4 separate regions of the Homo sapiens genome follow, and all the other regions are linked to region 4. The links are contacts of gene promoters, found by promoter capture Hi-C in blood cells and fetal thymus (Javierre and others, 2016). All regions are on one chromosome and are shown on one strand. Each heading gives the region's core, a stretch centred on a gene start or on the middle of the fragment in contact. The rest is flanking DNA. Distances are from core to core; before and after follow the strand shown.

Region 1 (2,700 bases), core at 182-2,681, 1.2 Mb after region 4:
ACTCGCATCCTTGGGGGAAAAAACAAGAAAACTAAATGCTTCCCTTCCAACACTGAAATGCTGGGGGAAAGCAGTGAAAGAGGTATTTAGAGTTCTGAAGACTGAAGTTCAGTCAACAAGTATTTCTTGCTTTTCTTGACCAAACTACCCAAGTGCTCAGCCGCTGGGGACTTGAGTGCCACCCAAACTTGTCAGCCACTGGGGACTTGCGTGCCACCCAAGCTTGTATTAATCAGGCACTAGCTTCTTTTAAATATTGGATGCCCACCAGTATAGGGGAGCCGTGCCTCTATCGAAAAATAAAGGCCTGATGTGGTGGCTCATGCCTGTAATCCCAGCACTTTGGGCGGCCAAGGCGTGTGGATCGCCTGAGGTCAGGAGTTCGAGACCAGCCTAACCAACATGGTGAAACCTTGTCTCTACTGAAAATACAAAATTAGCCGGGCGTGGTGGCACGCACCTGTAATCCCAGCTACTCGGGAGGCTGAGGCAGGACAATCACTTGAACCTGGGGGCAGAGGTTGCAGTGAGCTGAGATTATGCCATTGTACTCCAGCCTGGGCAACAAGAGCAAAACTCTGTCTCAAACAAATAAAAGAAAAGAAAAAATTTGAATTCTACAGCAATTCTTCACAACCATCTTGGTAAACAGTGTAATTTCCACACAAGACAGAACTGGGGTGTGGTGGAATGTTAGTTACCTGGAATATACTGACACTTCACAATATCAATTACACCTCCTCCCAAGGAGGTGCTGACTTTGCTCCAGATTTTTCTATGGCCTCTTTGTGCTCACTGTGCCTTGTTCTTTCCGAGTAACAGGAGGGAAAAGAAAAGTCTCTACCCAGGGACAAAATTCAAGGCAGTCTTCTTCCCCCGTGTCTTTCCCCTCTAAGCCAACAGGTCCGTCTAATTGAAGGACAGCTGTATGCCACGTCACCATGCAGGGGTCACTTAGTTTTAAGATGCTAAAGTGAAGCAAATAAATACAGAAAATACACCATCAATTTTTATTATAGAGAAATAGCACTGTTTTTGCTCAAAAGACACCTTTGAATACTGTGCAGGGACTGGAGTGATTTCCCTGCAGCGTTGAGCTGACAGCTGCTAGGGGAAGACCCCTGCCTGCCTTTCCCGCTGCAGACTGTGTATGTCTTTCCTTCACAGCCGCTTTGGCAGAGATCACGGAGATGGTGGCACAGCTCCACGGTACGATGATCAAGATGGAGAATTTCCAGAAGCTGCACGAACTCAAGAAAGATTTGATTGGCATTGACAATCTTGTGGTTCCGGGAAGGGTAAGCAGCAGTGGCCTCACTATGCACTGCGCGGGGAGCAGAAAGGAGGCATCGGAGGGACTTACATTTGAACCTTTTGAAGAGAGACCCTTGCAAAGCAAAATGTCCTCTTTCCATCCACCTGGGAGACAACTGGAAAAACACAACAGTGTCGTTAGTTCAGAATCATTGTGTTCGGAGGAGATAAAGCAATCCTCTGACCTCATATTCTGCTTTTTCTCCTTACGGGGTGATTCGCTTCTTTACCTTTTCCCCTACCATATCCCACAGAAGATTTGAGATTGCTTATTTTATTTTTTTTAAATGTACATAAATGAAAATGGAAAATTAAAAAAAAAATTAGGTAAATAGTAATAAAGCCAGAAAGGTAGTGCATTAAATTATGCTAGAAATTCCCATGCAGGTATGAAGTGTTTTTTTAAAATTCAATCTTCCATATATAATTTAATTTGAGTTCAAAATTAAAATACCAAATCTTAGCTGGAAAGCAATTCCAGGAGAGATGCAAGTTCACTGACACTGTCGCCTACCCCTCCCCAGCCCCCTGCCTGAGATGCAGGTGATTCCTACTCAACAGGGCTTCCCGCACACACTCCTTCCAGGCCAGTGACAATGTGGAGGACAGGAACAAAGCCTGCCTTCTCCACTTCCCTTCCTAGAAAGCCATCATCACCCAGGAATCAAACGTATCATTCAGTTGCTGCGTCTCATCAAATCTCTCTCTGGGATCTTTACCCTGTGGCGCCCCCATTTCAAATGCTACGTCACCCAGGTCGAGAGACAACTCACTGTAGCTGCTTTGATCTGCTGCTGCAGGATCCAGTATCTCAGGGGCTTTTAGTCTTTTTCCAACAAGCAGCTGCCCTGGAAACTTGACATCTGTAACTCAGGGCAGGGGAAGGAAGCTCTCCTTGTTTTGGAGCATTTCTGTCAGGAAGCCTAATTACAGAACTGACCAGAAGCCACGTTGTGAGAGATTGTCAGAAGAGCCATGCGGTAAGCGCTGGCAGAAATTAGAGCTGGGATGGCCTCAGCTCTGCTGGTGACAAGATCCTGCCAGGCCTCGGCACTTAATGACCTTATTTACCCATCCACACGGAACCCTCAGAAAAGCCCTGTGGAATCGATGTAATTTTCTCTCAGCTTTGAAAGTTATAAAATATTTAGCATCTCATGCTACATGGTGAACAGACCACTGATAAAGAATTCCTTTTTTTGAGGAAATGTTTTCCACTGCAATGGAAAGAACCTTGGATTGGAGGAGGTGGCCCTGGGTTCAAAGTCTCGCTCTACCAGTGCCGGGGTGGCGGGGGACCATGCACATGGAGACCATGGCCTCTCCCTCATAGGTCATTAAGATCAAATGAGATTTGCTCTGTGAAAATGACATAATACATATTAA
Region 2 (2,700 bases), core at 201-2,700, 1.2 Mb before region 4:
TTTCCAGAATAATTTCTCACTTCCAAAGTTTAGCCTTCATTTCCTGATTTATCCTACTTGGTATGATCTATCCTTACTTTAAATTTCCTCTTTATTGTAACTGCCATATAGCACTTAAGTTCTCACTTTAATACTTGAGTACGCTACTTACTTATTTCTCCTGTGAGAGATAGTATATTCCCCCAGAACTCATGCCTTGTTCATCTTTGGCATCCCGTGCAGTACCTAGCACAATACTTCACATTCACATGTTATTTGGGGACTCCATGAAGATTGAAGAACCCTTGCTTTATGGAAAGAATGTAGAAAGCTAAGGCAAATGCACTTCATTTCTATCCATAGTGTATACGAGAAAAATACATTACGAATCTTTCACAATTATTTGCTTTAATTAACTCCCCATTTCCACTCATATTTAGACCGAAATTTTTATTGAGATTGTGGGATTAAGGAAATAAAATATTGACAGTGAATGTCTTACATGTCAGCATATCCAATGGACTGCAAATCTTTAAGAAATAATTGGCCATATAAAAGGCACATTAAATAGACTATTAAAGGACACTAATAAAATGTATATTAGTAAAAATTTCACTATATGTGAGTTCAGAATAGTGAGAATGCTCATTTCTCTTTTAAAGAGAATAAAATTAATCTAATCTAGGCCATCTATGAATATATTTGTTATACATTTTATCTTACATGGTGTTCTCCTAGAAATTTTAATTTGAAACATTCCTCAGAATGATGATCCCCAAGCTTGTTTCCCCATCTACAGAGCAAAAGGATAAGACAATGTGATATTTAAGATTCCTTCTATATGTGATTCCTATGTGCAGATAAAAAAATACTAAAATGCAAAAATTGAGTAAATTAGCAAAGTCCACTCCAGTCAGTGGAGTAGCAAAGTATTTTAAAATCCACTATCAATAACCCTTTGGCACAGATTGGCTTTGAACTACGGACCTAACTCTACCTAAGTCTTTTTAGCAAAATACAATACAAAAGTTATTCACTGCAGGATAAAAGGAATAAAATTGATGAAGGTAGCAGTTTCTATCATATGTGGAAGAAGTGATTAATGAGTGCTTTATAATAAGAATCTTGTGTTTAACAGAATAAATCATCTTGAATTTAATGATATGTATTTAATGATAATAATGGCATGACATGAGTACAAAGTTACTGCCAAATTATTGCATTATATAATAAAATTTTAATTTTCTAAGCCTACATAAAATCCAGTGGGTGAACTCACTTTTAAAAGTATTATTCTGTAGGTTTTCCAGATTTCCCTTATAAGAAAGACCCTATTCTCCTATTCTCGTTTTATTATTAAAAGATCTTTTGTCCTGGCGTGGTGGCTCATGCTTGTAATCCCAGCACTTTGGGAGGCCGAGGCAGGTGGATCGCGTGTGGTCAGGAGTTTGAGACCAGCCTGGCCAACATTGTGAAACCTCATCTCTACTAAAAACACGAAAATTAGCGGGGTGTGATGACAGGTGCCTGTAGTCTCAGCTACTCAGGAGGCTGAGGCAGGAGAATCACTTGAGCCCAGGATGCAGAGGTCGCAGTGAGCCGAGATTGCACCACTGCACTCCAGCCTGGGCAACAGATGGGACTCCATCTCAAAAATAAATAAATTAAATTAAAGATCTTTTTCTTTTTCTTTTCCTTTTTTTCTTTTTTGATATAGATTCTCTCTCTGTCACCCAGGGTGGAGTTGTTTTTTTTGTTTTTTTGTTTTTTTGTTTTTTTTTTTTTGATATAGAGTCTCTGTCGCCCAGGTTGGAGTGCAGTGGTTCTCTTGAGTAGCTGGGACCACAGGCACATGCCGCCATGCCTGGCTAATTTTTTGTATTTTCTGTAGATGTGGAGTTTCACCATGTTGCTCAGGTTGGTCTTGAACACCTGGGCTCAAACGATCTGTGCACCCCTGCCTTTCAAAGCGTCGGGATTACAGACATGAGCCACCGTGCCTGGATATTATTTAAATATCTTAAATACACAAAAGTTTTCTACTCATTCCAGTTGGGAAAAATTTAGAGACTTATGTAATTTGTTACATCACTATTCCCTAGACAAGATTATACCAAAATCATAATCAAACGAGTATGGTTTAGGTTTTTTATGTTTAGTTTTAAGCTTAACTCTTTATAGCTTTTTTTAAAATTTAAGGGTCTGCAAGTTTGATATTTACAGGTTTACATATTTTATTTAAGATAGATAATAAATGCCTCACAAATGTCTAATCCCAGTATGTTTGATGAATTTTTTTAGTGGAGCTTTTTACTACAGTGGCTTTCAAATAGCAAATAAAGGATGTGAAATATATAATTTTTAAATTAATCATTTTGGATGATGTAAGAACTTGAGATTTGCTATTTAACAACAACCATCTATACTTATATGGTTAAATCGAAGTATTTTTAATGGTGGTAAAATACACATAAAATTTACCATTTTAACCATTTTTAAGTGTACAGCTCAATAGTGTGAAGTATATTCACATTGTTGTGCAACCAGTCTCCAGAACTTTTTCATTTTGCAAAACTGAAACTCTGCACCCACTAAACAAAAATGCTCTATTCTCTCTCCAGCCCCTGGCAACTACCATTCTACTTTCAATTTTTATGAATTTGACTACTCTAGATACTCATACAAGGAGAATCATACAGTATTTGTCCTTTTGTGGCCATC
Region 3 (2,700 bases), core at 177-2,676, 1.3 Mb after region 4:
ACACACACAGGGCAGCCAGGAAGAGCGCCCTTATCAGGCCCTGCTTGCGACAAGAGCTGCCAGTCCAGAGCCACGCCCAGTGGGAAACAAAGGAAATCTCAGCCCTAAGGCCCCAGCGTGAAACCCCACTTCTGAGAACTTTGAGACGCAGACACAGACGTGACCCTCATCGGCCCTCACCACACGCCTCCCGGGTCCACAAACCTGGAAAGTCAATTTCACATCAACATAAGAGTTTGCTCATGATTTCCAGTTCAGAGTTGGAACTGGAACTCTGAAGGGAGGACTTGCCCTTCAAGGAAGGTGGGTGCGGATGGCTCAGGCAGACAGGACAGCTCTCGAATAAAGGTTCTCATGTGAGCAGTGATGGTGCAACCAAGAGCGGAAGATCTTCACATGGCCCTGTCTCCTTTTTTCCACGGCACTTTGCATGATCTGAAACTGCTTATTTATTGTTTCTTCTACTTCAGGAGAGGAGGGAGTGTGCTGTCGTGATCACAGTTGTATTCACAGTGCAGTTGCTCAGTACAAATTTGTGAATGAATGGCACCAGCTTGATTTTCTTCCTTTGAAGGCACTTAATTTTTTAATAAGTTTGTAATACAACTTTTTTCCTCTGGAAAAGGTTCTGACATATGTAATCATCTCTATTCATTCATTTTGCTTGGTACCAGGCAACCTCTTTGACTTATGGGTTCACATCATTCTTGACCTTGGGTAAGTTTTAAATCTTTAAACATTCTTCTATTTATTCTGGAGTTTTCTTTCAAAACACCAATTAAAGCTGTGCACTGATGCTTTCAAAACTCTTTTAAACCTCTCTCAGCTTGCATCTCAACTAGAACGCCATCCTGCCAGGGCCCAACCCTGAAATGGCCGCACACTGAGGTGCCCATGCCTTCTGCCCCGCCACTCTCTAGGGATATTTGTCACCTAAGGCAGGTAACTCACTGAAAATGGTGACTACAACACAGCACGCTTGCTCCTAAAGTGCTGTTAATTCTTCCTGTTTACTGTCAGTCTCCCCCATATGAATTTAAGACATACAGGAGAAGAGACTTTTGTTCTTGTCTACTCCAGTATTACTGGAATCCAGAAAAATGTGCCTACACAGAATGGGTTAAATGAAAGAATCAATATGAAATAAATACAATAATGAAAGAGAGAGAAAGAGAGAAGGAAGGGGAGGAAGGAAAGGGGAAAGGAAGGAGGGAGAGAGGGAAATCTAAAATCAGAGTCCTCAGTCACATGGTAGATCAGCTAATTTACTACAAAGAATGAGAAGAGAATAATCGAGGTGGTGTCATCCAATGAGTTAAGAAACATGGGTTCTAGTCTCAGCCTTGCCAAAATCTACACAGATGAACTTTGATAAATGGGGTCAGCTTAAAATAAAGAGAATGGACTAAACATGTAAGTTCCTGGTCGAGTCCCAAAATTACATGACCCCAGGAAAAGGGTCAACAGCCAAAGTGACTGCAGATGAGAAGCAGCCAAGGCAGTGTCCCTCCCACGTGGGGTAGAGACACTCCCAGGCAAGGGCACACACCCAAGACCAGCCAGGTCTGCTGTGTGGGTATGTGGGGGGTGGGGGAACCCATCAGTCACTCACCAGCCAGAGGCTGTCAAGGCCATCATAGTGCTCAGAAAAGTCACAGCCACCGCTACCACTCAACAGTGAGACGGGCTCACTCCTCCCAAGGTGGAACCAGGTACGCCTGCAACTTGAGCTACAACCTGGACGCTTTCTAACAGTCTATAGCTTGCAACGGTGACCTGGGTCTGCAGGGAAAGTCACCTGGTGCTTCCTGTACTATGTTTAACAAGGTGGGAAGTTTACTGGGTACTGGGAAGATTTCTGTTTAAAAGCAGCAGCAAGGTTCGGCCTATATGCATATCTGAGTTAGGTATTTGTTTGCTCAGAAACTTGGAGCCCAGGAAAGCCAATTCTCCGTGGATCATGTGGCCTTTTAACTGTGTACAGGGTCCTAAGAAGAGCAGACTGTGCGAACTGAAGTTAAACCAGAGCCCTAGGAGGCAAAGTCCCGGGATTTTTTGTCCCATCTAACAGAGTTCACAAAAGTGGAGGGCAACAGAGAAAAAGAATATGAGAAAAATTAGGAGAGTGTCCCTAACACAGGACAAGTAAAAAACAGTGGGAAGAAAGGGTTAGGGTTTCATCACATGTTGACAAGGACAGGCTGGGAACGAGAATCCTCAGAACTAAAAATAATAGGAAGACCCTGCAGCAGTCACTCAAAGCACTGTTCTTCCTCCATTCTCACGCTTCCGTGGACTCCCTTTCTCTTGTGGGAGCCCCTTTCTCTACAGGCCCCTTCAAGGTTGCCGATTCCACGCACTTGCACTTCGACCCCCAGCTGTGCCCAGACAGCAGGTGGAGCCCCTCTGCAACCGCACACGCCTCCACCCCTCACCACCATGGCCCTTCAGTTCCTCCCACCCCCCTCCAAACCCGCTCCATCCTGTGTCCCCGCTGCCACCAAACAAACATAGCCTGAGTTAAAAACCTCGATCATGGTGGGCTGGATCAGCACAGGGTATTAAATGATACAGCAGGAGACAGAGGAGAAAACTGTTCATAACCAAGGTTGAAGAATTACCTTTATGACCTACCTCAAGGTACCAGCTTCGTTCCAACTTAGAAAAGCTACCAGGCTAAAGAACAAAAGGCGGGAGCCC
Region 4 (2,700 bases), core at 1-2,500:
TTATGTTTTTAAGATGCAATGGCAAAATAAAAAGAAAGCATTCCATTGCATTCTGTTGCTTCATTACAGATGCGCTGAACAGTTGCTTATAAAAATCGTGCATTGGGTTCAACCTTTCAGATGAATAAAGGCTTTGTTCTGTCTTGGTCTCATCATGTAATCATCATACTTTTTTTTTCTCAAAATGTGGTATTTAGGGGAGGAAAATGTATGCTTGTTGTGTTTGCTCAATGCCATATGTTTTTGAGTTTTTGTTTTCAAGGCATACAGAAATGCTGTAGACTGGGAAATAAATAAATAAATAAATAAATAAATAACCCTTCCTAAACTTTCTCTTCTTCTGCTTTATCTCAGGAAACTCCAGCACCTCCTAGAACATCTTTTGTGGAATGGCACCTCATGGGGGCCCTTGGATCATGTACCCCTTGTATTCAACAGTAAACATCTTCCTATAATCATTGCTTCATTAACGATAATGTGAGCCAATGCACAGTATTTATCAAATGGCATCTAAGATGGTTAAAGCACACCTAATCCTCTCGTGGGTGCCTGCCAAGAGTAGAAAAGGGTAGTGTATAGATATCAATTTTATTGTCCAGCATTCCCTAATCGAAGTCCCAAGTGGTCTGAAAACTTAGACGAAAGATAAATGGGCCGCAGTAATTAACCACTGCAATAACAGATGTTATACAGGAAACCTGTGTGTGCCAGAGCTATAAGCATGTTTTGATTTTGAATACGCACTTGGGCTAGCACATTCTTCCTCAATAATGGAAATATGTAAATGTTTTGTAAGGTATTAACTGCCATGGCAGACGTTGAATTATTTTTCCTTTAAAAAACATATACATATGCTTTGTCAGATAGTCCAAGGACTTCAGTTTCATGTACAACCTGGATTTCTTTGGAATCTGCGGAGTTTCACATTTTCCCAAGTGTTCACGGTGAAGCTCCTGGCTTCGAGCTGGCTGTCTTCAAGGGTGTTTTCTTGAGCTACCCCTCTCTCTGCTCTGCCAATTATGTGCCACTTTGTCTTGGTGCTATGATTGCTTTCTTCTGAGAGGGAAATTCCTCTTTCATCAGTATGGATGCACTGTTTTTACACACTGCAAGTGCTGTGTTACTGTGTCAGTCATCCTATTAGGGCCAGTTTCAGACGAGTAGGGCTGACGAGCTGGCTGGGGATTGGCTGGCCCCGGCTGGGAGGGATTTGTCGGAAGGAAGGGCTGCAGCTTACAGCAACAGAGTTTAGACTGTCTTTGCTTCATCATCTGAAGGTAAAATTTTCCAGATACGGCAGACGGCTTTCAGAGTACAATAAACAGGGAATGAGAACTATTTACATGGAAGTTTCTTTCTCATGATGCGGTGGAGAAGCCTCGGCCACTTGGTTCTGCCAGATGTTCCTGGGGTTACTGTAAATGGGAAGGACAGGCAGAGCTAAACAAGGTAGGAGAATCGCCCCCCTTTTTTGAATGTTTAAAGAGTTTGCTGCAGTATGCTGCATTCCATGTGTGCTGCTTACGGGAGCCAGGGAAACTGGATTCCACTAATTCAATTGTAATACTTGCGGGGGACCCTGGAGTTTTACGTAACATTTTGATTTGAGAAAAAGAAATGGCAAAGCTTGAATCTATGCCGCCTGTTTGGGGTGAGGCAAGAAATCGAGTTTTTATGCAAAGAATCGATTCATTTATTATATTATTTTTTAAAAACCATTTGAATTCTTTGGAGCAATCTTATTTTCTTGCTGTGAAAAATTGTTATATTGCCATAGCTAGTTCCCAAATAGATAAAGTTTACATGGATCCTATTATTTGAAAACAGACTTGCAATTAAGGATTAAAAAAAAATTCATGGTAAATAATCATCGGTTGAATGTTTGGCCAAACGTATGTGTCTATTTATTAAAAATTAGGGACCTACCTAGCTCTACAATGCTACAGCTTTAATTGAGTTTCAAAAGCACATTTTAAACAACCTAGCAAGAGGTAGCTTTCTGGCAAGTTTTCGATACTGTAGTTCAATGTTTACATTTCTTTTCCTGGCATGTCTGAGCCTTTGTTTCCAGCTTAAAAGTGGAACCATTATATTCAAAAGTAAAGCTGGGTTAATAATGCTTACTGCAATTATCTGATCTTTATGCATTTTTAATGAGAACACACAGCCAGCAGAATAATTTAATGAGGGCAGGCTAGCTTTTAAAGCTGTGTTTTCACTATGCCGAACCATATCAACTTTCTCGCTGAGAAGCAGCAGTGAGAAATGATGGAGAAGATTTATTTTTAACACACTTGGCCCAGGAGAAGGAAAGGATATATTTGCTAAAGAATTCTTTCTGCCCTTTTCCGTTTTAAATTTCTGCCAGGCATGAGGAAACTGTGCTTTTTTGTTAGGCCTCGGAAGCATGTGTTTACAATAAATGTGTAACATTTTTAGAATAGTTAGCAAGCACTGAAGCGAAGAAAAAAATCTGACTTGCCTAACCACCACCACCTTGAATGTTCTACAAGAAACATTACTGTCCCTTTAAAAGACAAAGGTTAAGTGGAAAGCTATTTGTTAATTGGGTAATGTGTGTGTTTTGGGGACAATAAGGTTTTTAAAAAAGGCAGGGGGAACATTCTTATAATCTTTAAATAAGAGGAAGTTTCTTCAGCTATCCTACTTGTTTTGCAAGGAGCAGTAGAACTACTCATT

What was found. The method cuts DNA at HindIII sites, captures the fragments that hold promoters and counts their contacts. A CHiCAGO score of 5 or more calls a contact.
Region 1: the fragment with the promoter of FARP1-AS1 here is called in contact with the fragment with the promoter of MBNL2 in region 4 in 1 of 17 cell types (M0 macrophages); the score reaches 5.3 in M0 macrophages.
Region 2: a contact is called between a fragment that was not itself captured here and the fragment with the promoter of MBNL2 in region 4, in 1 of 17 cell types (monocytes). The highest score is 6.8, in monocytes.
Region 3: a contact is called between a fragment that was not itself captured here and the fragment with the promoter of MBNL2 in region 4, in 1 of 17 cell types (non-activated CD4 T cells). The highest score is 5.4, in non-activated CD4 T cells.

What each region holds. Positions count from the first base shown.
Region 1 is chr13:98,434,409-98,437,108 of GRCh38, forward strand. FARP1-AS1 (FARP1 antisense RNA 1) reads right to left here and starts at 1,432. Exons shown (of 2, transcript NR_046595.1): 1 at 1,364-1,432; 2 at 997-1,250. It overlaps FARP1 (FERM, ARH/RhoGEF and pleckstrin domain protein 1), which reads left to right. Exons shown (of 27, transcript NM_005766.4): 19 at 1,168-1,298. The HindIII fragment of the contact is 3,650 bases long and covers 221-2,700 here.
Region 2 is chr13:96,055,034-96,057,733 of GRCh38, forward strand. No RefSeq gene overlaps it. Among named protein-coding and RNA genes, the nearest start is that of UGGT2, 3.0 kb to the left of the region's middle. The HindIII fragment of the contact is 1,386 bases long and covers 758-2,143 here.
Region 3 is chr13:98,472,077-98,474,776 of GRCh38, forward strand. All of the region lies in intron 5 of STK24 (serine/threonine kinase 24), which reads right to left. Among named protein-coding and RNA genes, the nearest start is that of FARP1-AS1, 38 kb to the left of the region's middle. The HindIII fragment of the contact is 5,160 bases long and covers 1-2,700 here.
Region 4 is chr13:97,221,083-97,223,782 of GRCh38, forward strand. MBNL2 (muscleblind like splicing regulator 2) reads left to right here and starts at 1,251. Exons shown (of 9, transcript NM_001382683.1): 1 at 1,251-1,449. RefSeq lists an enhancer at 1,273-1,332. The HindIII fragment of the contact is 4,024 bases long and covers 1-1,624 here.